4 separate regions of the Homo sapiens genome follow, and regions 2, 3 and 4 are each linked to region 1. The links are contacts of gene promoters, found by promoter capture Hi-C in human tissues and cell types (Jung and others, 2019). All regions are on one chromosome and are shown on one strand. Each heading gives the region's core, a stretch centred on a gene start or on the middle of the fragment in contact. The rest is flanking DNA. Distances are from core to core; before and after follow the strand shown.

The links. Contacts are between HindIII fragments. The study calls those that stand out against the background at their distance.
Region 2: a contact is called between a fragment that was not itself captured here and the fragment with the promoter of RPS6 in region 1, in 1 of the 25 tissues and cell types used here (thymus).
Region 3: a fragment that was not itself captured here is called in contact with the fragment with the promoter of RPS6 in region 1 in 1 of the 25 tissues and cell types used here (dorsolateral prefrontal cortex).
Region 4: a contact is called between a fragment that was not itself captured here and the fragment with the promoter of RPS6 in region 1, in 2 of the 25 tissues and cell types used here (lymphoblastoid cells and mesenchymal stem cells).

What each region holds. Positions count from the first base shown.
Region 1 is chr9:19,378,297-19,382,548 of GRCh38, forward strand. It overlaps RPS6 (ribosomal protein S6), which reads right to left and starts at 1,940. Exons shown (of 6, transcript NM_001010.3): 1 at 1,894-1,940; 2 at 1,191-1,322; 3 at 412-622; 4 at 72-218. The coding sequence starts at 1,899. RefSeq lists an enhancer at 1,255-2,454. The HindIII fragment of the contact is 6,896 bases long and covers 1-4,252 here.
Region 2 is chr9:19,322,366-19,326,617 of GRCh38, forward strand. DENND4C (DENN domain containing 4C) reads left to right here. Exons shown (of 33, transcript NM_001330640.2): 13 at 1,997-2,142; 14 at 3,574-3,609; 15 at 3,699-3,829. Among named protein-coding and RNA genes, the nearest start is that of RPS6, 56 kb to the right of the region's middle. The HindIII fragment of the contact is 4,100 bases long and covers 207-4,252 here.
Region 3 is chr9:19,422,347-19,426,598 of GRCh38, forward strand. It overlaps ACER2 (alkaline ceramidase 2), which reads left to right. Exons shown (of 6, transcript NM_001010887.3): 2 at 1,516-1,630; 3 at 2,354-2,495. Among named protein-coding and RNA genes, the nearest start is that of ACER2, 15 kb to the left of the region's middle. The HindIII fragment of the contact is 3,219 bases long and covers 235-3,453 here.
Region 4 is chr9:19,342,661-19,346,912 of GRCh38, forward strand. DENND4C (DENN domain containing 4C) reads left to right here. Exons shown (of 33, transcript NM_001330640.2): 22 at 1-119; 23 at 3,261-4,252. Among named protein-coding and RNA genes, the nearest start is that of RPS6, 35 kb to the right of the region's middle. The HindIII fragment of the contact is 5,809 bases long and covers 1-4,252 here.

The sequences.
Region 1 (4,252 bases), core at 690-3,189:
TCTGATATGCACACAAAATGATAGACAAATTACCAAAATTAAGCAAGCCCTAATTGCATAATCCCTCCTACCTTCTTTATTTAAGGGCTTTCTTACAACATACTGGCGGACATCATCTTCTTTAGAGAGATTGAAAAGTTTGCGGATTCTGCTAGCTCTTTTGGGGCCCAGGCGGCGAGGCACTGTAGTATCAGTCAGTCCAGGAATATCCTTCTCTCCTTAGAAGAAACAGTTGAAGAGATTTTAATTCAACAACTTCCTTAAGAATCCTAAATCAGAATGTTTAATGTTGAATTGATGGTAGAGAAACAAATCCATTGGTCTGTAAGTCTGGATACTGCAAATGAATAAGCATTTGGACAACTGGCTTTAAATCAATTTCAACGAAAATTGAACACAAGTAACCCTCACCTTTTTTTACAATAACCAAGTTGAGAACGCTCAGATTTGCATCCACAATGCAACCACGAACTGATTTTCTCTTTCTTTCTCCAGTTCTCCTTGGTCTGTAACAGGAATGCCCCTTACTCAGTAGCAGGCGGACACGGCCATGGGTCAAGACACCCTGCTTCATGGGGAAACCTTGTTTGTCGTTCCCACCACTGATTCGGACCACATAACCCTGCAAGAGCATACAATGAATGACACATTTACTATTTCTATTCCAAAATTATACAGTACAGGATTGTGACCTCTGTGAACACACCTATATGAGAAAGTATAATTATGAAAACCAATTTGAACTTAAGCACGTTTTCTCTGTTCAGTGAGTTTTGTCTATATTCCCAACTTGTCAAGTTCAATTATCAAATGTCTTTCAAGTCGCATTTCTAACCGATGTTTTATTAGAGATAACAGCACTAAGAAGATAAAATATCAAACAGCAACAAACAAATCAGATACAACCCTTTTTGGCACTTTGGGGATTATGAGGACAGCTATGTGACATATTGCCAAATGCATGATGCAGGGCAAGAATTATGTTGATGTAAACTTTACGTATATTTTATGGCTTACTCTACGTCCCCCCCTCCAAGGTAATACCTCTAACTTTATAAAGTGGCATTCGGAAGCAACTTACCAAAGGTCAGAAGCCAGAACCCGGAGTCTGAACCCCATTCCAAATACCAGTTACCAATGGCGTTTACCGTCTCTGACTTAAATACCTGCAACAATTTGTCAACTTTTACCTTCCATTCTTCACCCAGAGCGTCAGCAGCAACTTCTGTGGCCATACGCTTCTCATAGAAAGTACGAAGTTTGCGTTCATCGTCCACTTCAATGAGTTTCTGGCAGCCAGTGGCTGGGAAGGAGATGTTCAGCTAAGGATTAAAAGGGGGGAAATAGTTTACGAAACTATCTATACAGGTAATTGTAGAGCCATCTACAAAGTTAATTCCACTGCAAAAAGCCTTTCATGTTGCCTCCACACAAGCAGGAAATATAAGATGCCGACTGTACTCACTAAAAGCACGTGAAAGCAGAGTAGCAGTCAAGAAGCGCCGCACTCAGCAGGACGTTTTCCCCTCAAGCCCCGCGGAATGACTCTGGGGGCGAGGGCACTCCGCAGCCGTTCACCCTCCCGAAGCAAGAAAGCCGGGGTCAAGAGCCGCACCACAGGCCTGCCGCAAACTGGGCAACACGCCGCATCCGTCCCGGCTGGGCGCGGGGACGCCACCATGGCGCTCCCGGCCCGCCGCGGCTCCAGCCGCAATCGCCTGCCATCCGTTCGGCCAAAAAGCTCCATGCCCCAGAAAGGCGAGCCTTCTCCTACTTGAGACCCTTCTCCACCTAAAGCCAGGATCCTGGAGTGCTGGAACTGAGGCAATGCCGCGTTCTGGGACTCGATTCACGTTCCCCAAACCCAGTCTAACACTCGCCACCATCACCTACCTTCATCTTGAAGCAGCTGAACGCCTCCGAGGCGCCACGGAAAAGAGGGCCAACTTCCGCTTAGCGCAGGTCACATAGGCGCTTTCAGTTCTCGCGAGATGAGCAGAAGTACGGGATAGCGGAAGTGAGCATGGGTGGGCGGTACTTCCGGGCGAGATTAATCAGGGCCTGGGAGGTAAAGTCGGTTGGGTGTGGGTCTGAGGTTGTGCCAGTGGTGGTAGTCTGGTAAGGCAAACCCGCGTGTAATTCTGAGGGCTAACCCCTTCCCTGTCTAGTCTTTTCCACGCTGCCTGGGTTTTGGAGCTGGGCGCCAGCGGAGCCCCACTTCTGTCCCAGGCACTTTGCATCTGACGGTACCAAAATAGGAGGGCAAGGCCGGGCGCGGTGGCTCACGCCTGTAATCCCAGCACTTTGGGAGGCCGAGGCGGGCGGATCATCTTAGGTCAGGAGTTCGAGACCAGCCTGGCCAACATGGCGAAACTCCGTCTCTAATAAAAATAGGTAAAATAGCCAAAAATAGGTAAAATAGCCAGGCGTGGTGGGGGGCGACTGTAGTCCCAGTTACTAGGGAGGCTGAGGCACGACAATCGCTTGAGCCCAAGAGGCGGAGGTTGCAATGAGTCCAGATCGCACCACTGCACTGCAGCCCAGGCGACAGAGAGAGACTCCGCCTCAAAAAAGTTCGAGTTCGAGACCAAGTAAACAAGAATAATTTTTACTATCTAAAACTATCACATACCATCTCCCCACTTTAGTGTCACAAAGGTTTGAGTTTAGGACTGTTTTACATTCGAAGTTGAACGATTCTACTGAATCCTCTTTGATCATCTCACATTAATTCATGGAATCTTGGTGAAATGATGCTTTTTAAAATCTGAGTACTGTGTGTCATTTTTTTGTTGAGGTGAAATTGACATAACTAGTCATTTTAAAGTGAACAATTCAGTGGCATTTAGTACATTCACAATGCTGTACAACCACCATCTCTATCGATACAGTTCCAAAACATTTTCATCATCCTAAAAGAAAACCCTGTACCCTGTTAAAGCAGTTGCTGCCCCTTCCCCATTTCGACCAGGCCTGGCAACCACCAATCTGTGTTCTGTCTCAGTGGATGTACCTACTTCATAAAAATGGAATCATACAATATTGACCTTTTGTATCTGTCTTCTAATCTTTTGAGTCGTAGCATGTATCAGTACTTCACTGCTTTTATGGCTCAATATTCTAGTGTAGATATAGACTGCAGTTTGTTTATCCATTCCTCCATAAATAGACATTTGGGTTGTTTCTGCCTTTTAACTACTGTAAATAGTTCTTCTATGTTTGAGTACTTGTTTTAAATTATTTTAGGTATATACCTAAGAGTGAAATTGCTGGGTCATATAGTAGTTCTATTCTCAACTCAGGGAGAAACTGAAACTGTATTCCAAAGCAGCTGAACCATTTTACATTCCCACCGGCAATGTATGAGGACCGCACTTTATCAAAATCATGGCCAACACTTGTTATTTTTTTAATTTTTTAAAAATTTATTGTAGGGACAGGGTCTCGCTTTGTTGCTCAAAGTGAGATCCTGTTGGTCTGGAACTCTTGGCCTCCAGCATCCTCCTGTCTCAGCCTCTGGAGTAGCTGAGACTCATTGTGGTTTTGATTTGCATTTCCCTAATGACTAATGATGTTGAGCATGTTTTAATGTGTTTGTTGGCCATTTGTATATCTTCTTTAGAGAAAAGTCTGTACAAGCTCTTAGCTCCCCCTGTTATTTTTATTGAAGTAGTGGGAGTAAATTAATGTGAGGCAAAGAGAAAGTCTAGAACTATGGGCTAGTTTTTTTTGTTTGTTTTTCCTTTTAAAAATATTTTAGGGTGGCCAAATGCAGTGGCTCACACCAGTAATCCAGACGCTTTAGGACGCTGAGATGGGAGGATCTCTTGAGGCCAGGAGTTTGAGATCAGCCTGGGCAAACATAGTGTCACCCTGTCTCATTTAAAAAAAAATTTTAATGCGTTTTTAATTGTGGGTAAAAAACATATAACACAAAATGTATCATCTTAACCATTTTGAAGTGTACACTTCTGTAATGTTAAATATATTAACATTGTTGTAAAATAGATCTCCAGAACTTTTTCATCTTGCGAAATGGGAACTTCATACTCATTAAACAACTCCTTTCCCCCTACCCACGGCTTTTGGTAACCATTCTACTTTCTGTCTCTATGATTTTCACTAAGCATCTCATATAAATGGAATCAAACAGTAGTAGTTGTCTTTTTGTGACTGGCTTATGTCATTTAACATAATGTTCTCAAGGTTCATCCATGTTATAGCATGTGACAGGATTTCCTTCTCTTTTAAG
Region 2 (4,252 bases), core at 1,007-3,506, 56 kb before region 1:
TTGAGAGTATTGACAAAACAGTAATTGAAATGATGGATATAGCATGGAATCAGTATTGGACGGAGAAAGAAGTGAAGATGGGAGGATGTACATAGAAGTAAAAGGGCCAGTGGAGGCCAGGCGCGGTGGCTCAGGCCTGTAATCCCCGCACTTTCGGAGGCCGAGGTGGGCGGATCACGAGGTCAGGAGATGGAGACCATCCTGGCTAACACAGTGAAAAATTAGCCAGGCGTGGTGGCGGGCGCCTGTAGTCCCAGCTTCTCAGGAGGCTGAGGCAGGAGAATGGCATGAACCCGGGAGGCAGAGCTTGCAGTGAGCCAAGATTGACTGCACTCCAGCCTGGGCAATACAGTGAGACTTCATCTCAAAAAAAAAAAAAAAAAAAATAAGGGGGCCAGTGGATTGGAGATTTCCATGAGCCTTCCCTCTCTGCTCCCTGCACAAAAAACCCAAAAAACCCTAAAACACTTAGTAGAAATACTTAATTAAGGAGACCAGATAGGCAGAGCTAATGGGCTGGGAGTGATGTGAAAAAGAGATTTGAGAGGCAATGTTGTTTTGAATGCTGGCAAGGAAAGTCAAGGGACTGTGACTGTGTGTTGAAGTTGGTGATTGAGGTAGGATGGAGCATAGGATCACTGAAAATCAAGGAATGAAGGCTGGGCATGATGGCTCATGCCTGTAATTCTAGCACTTTGGGAGGCTGAGATGGGAGGATCACTTGAGGCCAGGAATTCGAGACCAGCCTTGTCAACATAGCAAGACACCCATCTCTTAAAAGAAAAGAGGCTAGGTGCAGTGGCTCACGCCTGTAATCCCAGAACTTTGGGAGGCCAAGGCGGGCTGATCACCTGAGGTCCGTTCAAGACCAGCCTGGCCAACATGGTGAAACCGTCTCTACTAAAAATACAAAAATTAGCCAGTCGTGGTGATGGGCACCTGTAATCCCAGCTACTCAGGAGGCTGAGGCAGGAGAATCACTTAAACCTGGGAGGCAGAGGTTGCAGTGAGCCAAGATCACATTACTGCACTCCAGCCTGGGCGACAGAGCTAGACTCTGTCTGGAAAAAAAAAAAAAAAGGAATGAAGAAGAATCTAAAGTGTTTTCATGGTTTGTGCTTCTGGGTGTGGAAGAATGATGGTGGTAGGAATTAGAAAGGAGGAGACCTTGAATCAGATGCCTTGGTCTTCAGTGAATGAAGGAGTGTCCCTGAAATCAATAGATGTCTACGATTAATAGAGGAAATTGTGGAATAGTCAGATGCTTGAAACTTTAATGAGCAGAAATTTTAAAAACACAATACAGAAATAATGGTCTTGCAACATTAAAGAGGAAGGACATTGACTCTTTGGAAATTGACCATGGACTCAAGAGTATGCAGAGTATCAGAGAAATTTCTACTTAAAAGTTGTAGAGCTGGAGGTTCCTTATAGGGGATTTAGATTTCAGTGAAGAGTTTGATAGAAGTATTTTTCGTGGTTTAATTAGGCAGAAGGAGCTATATATGCAGTTACCACAGGTTGAGCTTCCCTAATCTAAAAATCCAAAACCTGAGATGCTGCAGAATCTGAAACTTTCTGAGGGCTGACATTATGCCACAAGTGGAAAATTCTACACGTAAGTACTTAACACACACTTTGTTTCATGCACAAGATCATTGAAAATATTGTATAACATTCCCTTCAGACTGTGTGTATAATGTATATGTGAAACATAAATGAATTTCCTGTTTACTTGGGTCTCATCCCCAAGATATGTGATTGTGCACATGCAAATATTTCAAAATCTTAAAAAAAAAAATCCGAAATCTGAAACACTTTTGGTCCCAAGCATTTCAGATAAGAGATACTCAACCTATAGAAGCTTCTTTTTAAATATGGATATATATATGTATATATAAAGAGAATGTAATATAGATAAGTACAAGTTTAATGTTTCCTATAATATCGAATTCCAGTTTAAAATTTGAATTTAATTATATTTTGTTTTCCTCAGGATTTTTAAAAAGTCGAGATCGTGCCTATGCAAAATTCTATACCCTTTTATCCAAAACACAGATTTTTATTCGTTTCATTGAAGAATGCAGTTTTGTAAGTGATAAAGATACTGGATTAGCATTTTTTGATGACTGCATAGAAAAGGTAAAAGTTTGTACTTATACTAGTGTTTAGAAAAAAAAGTTTGCCTTACCTGTGTAATTATCATTGTTATTGTTAGTCTAGAGTGATATAAGGAAAACAGAGTAGGGTTGTGTATGTGTGTGTATGTGTTACCGATTCTGGGCTGAATATATGAATAAAATTCTTTGTGGTTTCAAGTTTCTACCACATATAGCCAATTTTTCTATTCTTTATTCATTGATCCATTGATTGAAACAGCATCTCATTCTGTTACCCAGGCTAGGGTGCAGTGGCATGATCATAGCTCATTGCAACTTTGAACTTCTTGCCTGAAGTGATTTTACCACCTTAGCCTTCTGAGTAGCTGGGACTACAGGCATGTGCTACGCCCAGCTAGTTTTTTTAATTTTTGGTAGAGATGAGGTCTCACTGTATTGCCCAGGCTGGTCTCAAACTCCTGGGCTCAAGTGATCCTCCCGCCTTGGCCTCCCAAATCCTTGGGATTGCAGGATGAGCCGCCATGCCCAGCCAGTAAATTTTCTCTTTAAATCTCACTTTCGTTTTACAACTATTGAGTTGTAAAACTAAGAACATTTTCTTGAGCCTTGTGAGTTTATATTTTTTTAATTTAAATGAATAAGATTTAGTTTAAGATTTAGGTTTTTTAATTAAAAAATGTTTAGTTTTATGGGTAATAGAAGTTCTATGTTCTTTTGTTTTAATGTCTTTCCAGATTCTTTTGCCTAATATGTTTCTTTTGTTCTAATGGAGGGTGGAAATACGTTAAATTTTAAAGCTTTACCCACCCATCCTAAGGAAGTTAAAATTGATTCTTGACTTAGTTATAATTTTTCCTAACTTTTAATATAATTCTTATTTTTGCTAAGTAGATCTTGGGGCCAATTGTTTATGCAAACTGTATATTATATAACATTTGAGATTGTATCCAAAAAAAGTTGAATATTATGACATTAATTTTTATGGCCCCCTCATGATTCATATGCCTTAGAAGATTTAAATAATTTTCTCCTATCAGTGTGATCCAAAATTCCAGGGATATAATTAAAACTATTCAACATTTTTGTTTATTTACAAAATTGATATTCCAGTATCTTCCAGTTATATGAGAAGTTTAATGTCAATCACTAATAAAGGGGCTTAATAATAATGAAATTTTTTATTTGAGAAGCCAGATAACCTTGTGATTGGTCATCTTTTGTCTTAAGGTTTACAAAACAACTAATCAAAATAGTTTTCTATCCTAATAGCCACAAGTAAAAAATTATGCTTTAGCCTAAGAGTATGTATTCAGCCTAAAAATATACTGTGCATGTTTTGTATCAGCTGGTACTGAAAAGGGGTAGTTTTTTTCTAAATCAGAATGTAAGATAAAAATGTCTATTAAATTCATAGTGGACATTTTCATTAAGAATCTGTTTTCTTTTTTTCTAGTTGTTTCCTGATAAAGGCACAGAGAAAACAGATAAGGTATGTTTTTCTTAGATTTTAAGGGTTGAAATTTCAGAATTAGATCTTGTTTGTATGCAAATTAATTGGGGAAAAATAATGATTTTCAGGTTGATTTTGATTCAGCAGAAGATACCAGATTGATAGAACTAGATGATTCACAGAAAAGTGAGCATACTGTATTTATAATGCCGCCAGAGCCACCTCCTGATGATGGAAAGGACCTGTCACCAAAGTACAGGTAGTAGGAAGTTTTAAAAGAGCTTAATGGCACAGCCTATCAGTTTCTTTTAATTTTTATTAGTAGATATGTATATTAGTCTTTTGTGAAACTCATTTTCAGTATTAGTTCAGTGAACTAATGTAGATAAATATTTTATGGAAATGCCACTAGGTGTTATAATTTAAGAATTGGATGGTATTGTCAGATGTTGATCATTGTTTACCTTAGTGTTTGTATTTTAATCTTTAAAAGTTTCAATTCTGAAGAAGAAAAATGATACTTTTATGAGGCTCCCTGCTCCCTTTGGGAGTTTCATTTTGAAACAAAGACTGTGAAATTCTTATGAATTAGTAATTTACCAAGAAAACTTAAGGTAGAGGGCCAGGAATTTATTCTTTATTAAGATAAAGGATAGGATTTGGATGTGACTCTTTTAAGAAA
Region 3 (4,252 bases), core at 594-3,093, 44 kb after region 1:
TTACATGTTCAAATGACAATATTTTGAATACATTGCATTAAATAAGATAGATTATTAAAATTTTTAAAAAGTTGAATGCCCATGGAGACATAACAGAGAGGCTTAAATCCATACCAAAATCTGCAAGATAAAATAATATCATTTTAAAGCTGGGAAGAAACTTTCAAATATAATCTTTACTTAAAAATAGGTTTTGGTTAGGATGGGAAAGCTGACAAAGGGCAACGAAGGGGGAAACTAGAAAGAGTCCTCGCTTTGTGTAGGCACAGGGGAAAAGGCTGGCTTGGCTGGGGAGGATTATTGGGAGCTGGACAATGTCCAGTCTTTTTTACGCCTTCATTAAACTTTTTTTTTTTTTTAACCATTATTTAATACAGACCTTATCTTTAAAAACACAAAAGCAGGCGGGCGCAGTGGCTCATGCCTATAATCCCAGAACTTTGGGAGGCCTGAGACGAGTGGATCACCTGAGGTCAGGAGTTTGAGACCAGCCTGGCCAACATGGTGAAACCCCGTCTCTACTAAAAATACAAAAATTAGCTGGGTGTGGTGGTGAGCGCCTGTAATCCCAACTACTCGGGAGGCTGAGGCAGGAGAATCGCTTGAACCTGGGAGGCAGAAGTTGCAGTGAGCTGAGACTGCACCAAAGAACTCCAGCCTGGGCTGTAAGAAAGAAACTCTGTCTCAAAAAAAAAAAAAAAAAAAGTAAATGGAGCCAGGCATGGTGGCATGTACCTAGTCCCAGCTACTTGGGAGGCTGTGGTGGGAGGATCACTTCAGTCCAGCCTGGAAAACATAGCTAGACCATGTCTCTTAAAAAAGGATTGTGAAAAAAATAAGTGCAAGTAAATTAGAATGATTCATAATTAACCTTGCAATAAGAATTACTGGTTAATTCTTATTTAATTCTTAGTTAATAAGAATAAGAGAGGAGCTTGGGCAGCATCCATAGACTGCAGTGTTTTTATAGCTACTCCTATGATCAAAGAAGCAGCAGGGAGCCTCTTAAATGGTCATTTAAAAAGCTTTAAGTTCTCCTGATTGTATATCTGTAGTCAAAAGAAGTGTCAGAGGCTGGGTGTGGTGGCTTATGCCTGCAATCCCAGCACGTTGGGAGGCTGAAGCAGGCAGATCACCTGAGGTTGGGAGTTCCGAGACCAGCCCGGCCAACATGGTGAAACCTCATCTTACTAAAAATACAAAGATGAGCCAGGTATGGTGGTGGGTGCCTGTAATCCCAGCTACTCAGGAGGCTGAGGCAGGGGAATTGCTTGAACTCGGGAGGTAGAGGTTGCAGTGAGCCAAGATCGTACCACTGCATTTCAGCCTTCCAGCCTGGGTGACAGAGTGAGACTCCATCTCAAAGAGAAAAGAAAAAGAAAAAGTGCAAGAGCTTAAACGAGATGTGTGACCACATTTATCCCAGTTTGCAAGGACATACTTGGAAGAGGCCACTTTATTTTTTGCCCTTTTTACTTAATACTCATCTTTCTGTTTTACATTTTTTTCCTGCAGATCAGCAATGTCTTATTTTTCATTTTACCGCCCATCTGCATGTGCTTGTTTCGTCAGTATGCAACATGCTTCAACAGTGGCATCTACTTAATCTGGACTCTTTTGGTTGTAGTGGGTAAGTGGAGTCATTTGGGAACACGGACTTAATGGGGTGGTGGGATGGGGGTAGAAGGAATTCCACACACTTCCTCTCCCCTTTGAACATAATGTTTTGTAAACTGAAGTCACTCTGAGGTCTTAGCAAACTTTTTTTTCCCACTTGCTTGAATGCAGGCTTGATAACAAAGTTGGCATTACTGTCACTTGCGTGCATTTGAGACTTCATTTGTGTAGTAGCTATTAGGGCTATGCCAGTGCAATTTTCTGAACGTCTGAAGAAAGTCAGGTGAAACAACTGAACTCTGGGGAGGCTGGTTTCTAATGGACTAAAATTAAAGAAAAAAATGTAGATGTTTGATCCCTCATTGTTTTGTGAAATACTTGTGTCATTTCCATTTCCTCCCACAGGCAGCCTGGGAATTCTTAACAGTGAAGGAATGTTGACTTTTATTTACTGCCTCTTCCCAGAAAGGCTCAGTGGATGAAGACAGAATGCGTTTAACTGTGGAATTGTTAAAGTTCTGATGTGCTGATATTTGGGCCCTAGTTGAAATCTTCTTTCTAGACTGGAGGCATGCATGCTTGGGTGGTGTGAGTTTCTTTCTTCAGTTTCTTTTTTCAGAGAGAGAGTGATCTGGTGACTGTGTTAACCATTGGTGAAAGGACTATCCTTAAGCAGTGTATTGAATTTGTGTCTCTTCTGTGGTGACCTTTTTTTATTGGTTGTAATTGATTCTAGGAATTGGATCCGTCTACTTCCATGCAACCCTTAGTTTCTTGGGTCAGATGCTTGATGAACTTGCAGTCCTTTGGGTTCTGATGTGTGCTTTGGCCATGTGGTTCCCCAGAAGGTATCTACCAAAGATCTTTCGGAATGACCGGTAAGCTTGCACTAAACATTATTGCATTTACCACTAGGTGCAGTACCCAATATAACAATGTATATATGAAGAAAAATAGCACATGATTGAACTCAGCCTAGTGATGAGCTTATCATATACTTGTTCAATATCTACTGATTGTTTTTATGATCTGACAATATAAGTAAACTGACAGATTAAAGAGAGAATTTTAATAATGCAGAGTGCATCACCTCTCTGTACCCAAAGTACATCACCTCTCTGTACCCAGTGGTTTAAGAATTAGCAAGAGTGGAAAGACCTTCAGTGGGGGTGACATTACTGAATGCTTATTCAATACTCTTTGATTTTCTGCTACAACATTTCCTTGAGACTAATCCAACTCCACCAGTTTTATACATATGAAGTAGAATCCAGACTGATGAACTGGTTCTTGGAGCTACAGATACTGTAGTTTTCAAGTTGCCTTTTTTTTTGCTTCAGATGAGAGCTGTGCACCTGCGTGCGTGCGCGTGCACACACACACATACACACTCATATACTGTATATATGTTCAAACTGGAAACCCAGAATTTCAGGAAGGGATGCATTTTAATAGCCATTGTGTTAGGGTTATACAGGTATTCATCCAGCAAATATTTTTGAACACTTATATTTTACTGTGCATTTTGCTAGGCACTGGAATATCACAGTAAACAAAACAGCAGTCTTCCTCTAATGAGCTTACACTGAAGTTGGGGAGATTACAAATCAACAAACAAGTAAATAATATAATATTAGGATATGTTAGGTACTGTGATGAAAAGTGAAGCTGATAAGGGTATAGTGGTGACTTAGGGTGCTGATTTAGAGTTTGGTCAGAGAAAGTCTTTCTGAGGAGCTGTGTGAGGTTTGTTACTATCTAGAGGCACAGAGGAGATTCAGCCCAATGAAGATGAGAAACGCTCCTGGAACACATTACCCACATTTTCTGTAGGACACTGTTTTGTCAAAATATACATATATGGCTAAATAGTCTGAAACTATGGATTCAGTGAAGCAAACGGTATGTGCCCATGGAAGAGTTATACCAGGAAAAGAAAATAATTCATTACAGTTTTACTGGCACTCTGAAAAGGAACAGGAGCTGTGAAGCTGCTGAGGACTAAGGCTGCTGCTATCTGTGGACTCAAATGGAGAAGCGTCTATGAAAAATGCTGGCTGCAAGGGGCACATTATATAATTCTATGTGTGATATCCTAATTTTAGAATGAATGAACTAAACTCTTTCTGAGTATGTTTTTGTATTAGCACAAAAATGCCTGGGAGGTGAGGACACCTAACTACAGCCATTGGCTGTTCTTGGGCATTGCCAGCAGAGAGGAACAGCCGCTTTTACCTTTCATCTGAACTGGTTGACTTTTTTTTTAAAAAAAAAAAAACAAAATTAACACATTAATCTCTTTCTTTCTTTCTCTTTCTTTCTTTCTTTTTCTGTCTTTCTTTCTCTTTCTTTCTTTCTTTTTCTTTCTTTCTGTCTTTGTCTTTCTCCCTCTCTTTCTCTCTCTCTCTCTCTCTCTCTCTCTCTCTCTCCTCCTTTCCCTTCCCCTCCTTTCCCCTCCCTTCCCCTTCCCCTCCTGTCTTGAAAGATACCCACCAGTCACCATGATGCTTTCTCTAAACCTGGTGTACGTTAGATTGAGAGCTGAGGAATCGCTTTTCTCAGATATCTTATTTTTCAAGTCTGAGTAAGAAATTGAAGAAATGGGAATAAACGTTTTGTGTATTTGTTTGTGACA
Region 4 (4,252 bases), core at 992-3,491, 35 kb before region 1:
AAAACATTCACAACCTAGTCCAGAGCCTCACAGTCCTACTGAACCTCCTGCATGGGGCAGCAGTATTGTGAAAGTTCCGTCTGGTATATTTGATGTCAACAGCAGGAAAAGTAGCACTGGTGAGTCTTTACATTTTGGTTATTAAATATTTAAAATATACTTTTATAGACTCATATGTGTCTTTAATGACATTAAATTTTTGACTTAATTGTAATGAACATGCTAAAGAGCCAGAAGGGACTTTTGAATTCTCTAAATCGGCTAAAGAAATTGAAAATATTGTTATTTAAAGGTGTTTGATTTTTAAAAGGAGTATTTAGTGTGTTTGTTATTTGGAATACCCTTTCCTGTTGTGGTGCCTGTCCACCGTTTGGCCACTCTTTCTCATTATAGATAATAAGAAAGTGTACTTTTAGGGCTTCCTGTATGCATCATGAACAGGCAGTGATGTGATCAAATTCCAGAGGGCTTATGAGTGGCAGGCTAATTCCTATCACTGAAGGGAAATGGAAGAAAAAGATTCACGTCATTTCCCCTCTACACAGATATGCCAGTGGATCTTTGATTTTGGCCATTGTTATAGGTACCCCAAGCCATTTTTTATTTGTGATTAAGTGTTTGTACTAAATAACTCTGTGTGTATGACTCCCTTGAATTTGAGTTTTCTACTTTCATTATATATATAGGTCTCCCAAGACTCTTATGGCACATATCCAAGTATATGATTTTAAAAGACAATGAAATTGGCCTGCATCCTTTGCCCTTCATTAGTGGTGGCTGCAGTTGACTTTTCTGAAGTTGACTGTCTTGTCTGAAAATGTATCTATTGTATGACTGTACAGAAATTAATTTGTTCAGCTTCTTAAACCAATGTAAAAGTACTCCTTGTTCTTAAAGTCTTTTCTCTTTGTATTTACCGTGACTCCGAGTTTCACTCATTACTTGTTTGGGTAGTGCTCAAGAGGTGGGGCTAAAGATTTTTTGAGAAAATAATTGATATATACATTGCAGATTCCATTTTCCTAACCTCTTGATAGCAGAGATACTGGGGAAAAGGAGGGAAGAGTTTTCTTCGTCAGAGGCTTAGAATCCTCTCAAAATATTGAACTGGACATCGTCTGTGGACTGTTGTGTTTCCTTCCCTTTTAACTTATTTTCATATTAAGAACGAAGGGCGAGGATAATGGGGCTTTTGTCAGTATAGCAAATTTTTTTTAAAAAACATTGAATAAAATGTGCCGTTAAATTCCTTGGAAATACTATGAGAACCAATAATATTTGCAAGGATTTGTTTCTCAAATATTGGGACCAGCTTTCAAAGCAGGTACATATTTTGAGTTGTAAAATAGGTTAGTTTAATTCCCGTGAAGGCTTAAAAGAATATCTCTAAATGCTTATTCTGATTAATTGATATGATTATCAGTACTAACTTGAAAGATTAAAAAGAACCTTGAAATCAATCTTGAAGTTTAAAAGAAAGATCTTATCTAAGACAGCTTTTTTCCTTGAAGCACCCAGATATTGTTATGCTTTTTAACAAAACAAATGATGTGACTACAGTAAAAAGCAATGGATAAAAAAGAAAACGAAGGAAAAGAAAAACACAAATGAGAATCCTAAATATGAATAACTCAGGCTGCTATACAGTTCCACAGACTAGGTGACTTATAAACAACAGAAATTTATTTCTGCCGGGCTCAGTGGCTCATGCCTGTAATCCCAGCAATTTGGCAGGCTGGAGGGAAAGATCGCTTGAGGCCAGGAGATTGAGGCTGTAGTGAGCCATGATTGCACCACTGTACTCTCCACCCTAGGTGACAGAGCAAGACCCTAACTTTGTTTGTTTGTTTTTGAGACAGACTCTCACTCTGTCGCCTAGGCTGGAGTGTAGTGGCACAGTCATGGCTCACTGCAGCCTCAACTTCCTGGGCTCAGGCAATTGAGGATTCTCCCGCCTCAGACCCCCAAGTAGCTGGGACTACAGGCGAATGCCACCACATCTGGCTAATTTTTGTATTTTTTTGCGGAGACAGGGTTTCTCCATGTTGCCCAGGCTGGTCTCGAGCTCCTGAGCTCAGGTGATCCGCCTGCCTCAGCCTCCCAAAGTGCTGGGATTACAGGTGTGAGCCACCATGCCCGGCATAACCCTAACTTAAAAAAAAATAAAAGAAAGAAATTTATTTCTTATAGTTCTAGGGGCTGGAAAGTCCAGGGTTAGGGTGTTAGCATGGTGAGTTCTGCAGAGGGCCCTCTTCCAGGTTGCAGAGTGCTAACTTATTGTATCCTCGTACAGCAGAGAAGGAGAGAGCTCTCCTTTAAGGGCTCTAATCCCATTCATCAGGGTTCCACTTTCATGATCAAATTATCTTTCAAAGGCCCTGCCTCCTAATACTGTCACACTGAGGGTTAGGATTTTAGCATGTGGATTTTGGCGGACACAAACATTCAGTCCATAACAGGTAGACTTAAGTTCTAATAATGATTCAAATAGGAAATAACAGCTTTTGGTCTTGGAGTGAAACAAATTGCATGGTAGCCAAGAGTAAAAGACTGCTTTCTTTTTCCAAAGCTGGGGGAAGCTGCTATGGCCATTAGCATATTTTTTCTCTACCTGATCAAATAAGACTGACTTCTGTGAAGGCTAGGATTATGTCTGTTTTATTTGCCTTTATATTCCTAGCACCTCATATAGTGGCTACTAGTAGACGTTTAGTATTTGTTGAAGAAATGGATATATCTGAATAATTTTTTAACCACTCAGATTTTATCAGCCTTCTTAGAATTTGCCAGTGCTAAGCATTCCATTCCGGATTATTTTACTTTACAGCAGTAAGACTTTGAGTATAGCAAATATACAATTCCTATAAGATTACAAATTTGCTTTTTGCAGAGTAGATTACTGGCAAGTATTTGTTGAATTGGATACAAAACTAAGATGGAAGAGATTCTTTCTTTTTCTGTATTTTAGTGAAGAACACAGGTATATCCATCTATCATATGTTGCATGATTTGTTTTTTTAAATGGGTGTTTATATAAATATAGGATGAAAGACAGGTTATACATTAAAATGTCCCTGGGAGGCAAGTTTTAAATAGCTTTTCCAGTGCACTTTTTTTTATACTTTCTTTATGGCCTCTAAATTTTCTGGATCTTTTATTCTGAGTATATGTCACATTCATAATCAGGAAAACAATAAATATTTTAATAAAAGTTAACTTGGAAAATAGGTTCATTGTTAATATTTTACTTTCCCTTTTAGGTAGTATATCAAATGTGCTGTTTTCTACTCAAGATCCAGTTGAAGATGCAGTCTTTGGCGAAGCTACTAATCTCAAGAAGAATGGTGATAGAGGAGAAAAAAGACAAAAGCATTTTCCTGAGAGGAGTTGTAGTTTTAGTTCTGAAAGTCGAGCAGGAATGTTGCTTAAGAAGAGTAGTTTGGATTCGAATTCAAGTGAAATGGCTATCATGATGGGAGCAGATGCCAAGATTCTCACAGCAGCATTGACATGTCCTAAGACTTCTCTACTTCATATTGCAAGAACCCATAGCTTTGAGAATGTTAGCTGTCACCTACCTGATAGTAGGACTTGTATGTCTGAAAGCACTTGGAATCCTGAGCACAGATCATCTCCGGTGCCAGAGATGCTTGAGGAAAGCCAAGAACTCCTTGAGCCTGTGGTTGATGACGTACCTAAAACTACTGCAACAGTAGATACATATGAGAGTCTACTAAGTGATAGTAACAGTAATCAGTCCAGAGACTTGAAAACAGTATCCAAAGATCTGAGGAATAAGAGAAGTAGTTTATATGGTATTGCTAAGGTGGTTCAGAGGGAAGATGTTGAAACTGGACTAGATCCTTTGTCTCTTTTAGCCACTGAATGTACAGGAGGAAAAACTCCTGATTCTGAAGATAAGTTGTTTTCTCCAGTTATTGCACGTAATCTGGCTGATGAAATAGAAAGCTATATGAACCTAAAAAGTCCCCTAGGTAGTAAATCTTCTAGTATGGAATTACACAGAGAGGAAAACAGAGAGTCTGGCATGACTACTGCATTTATTCATGCTCTAGAGAGGAGATCAAGCCTACCTTTAGATCATGGTTCACCAGCACAGGAAAATCCTGAAAGTGAAAAGAGCTCACCTGCAGTGTCCAGGTCTAAAACTTTTACTGGGCGTTTCAAGCAGCAAACCCCCTCTCGAACTCATAAAGAACGTTCAACTTCTTTGTCAGCACTGGTGCGTTCT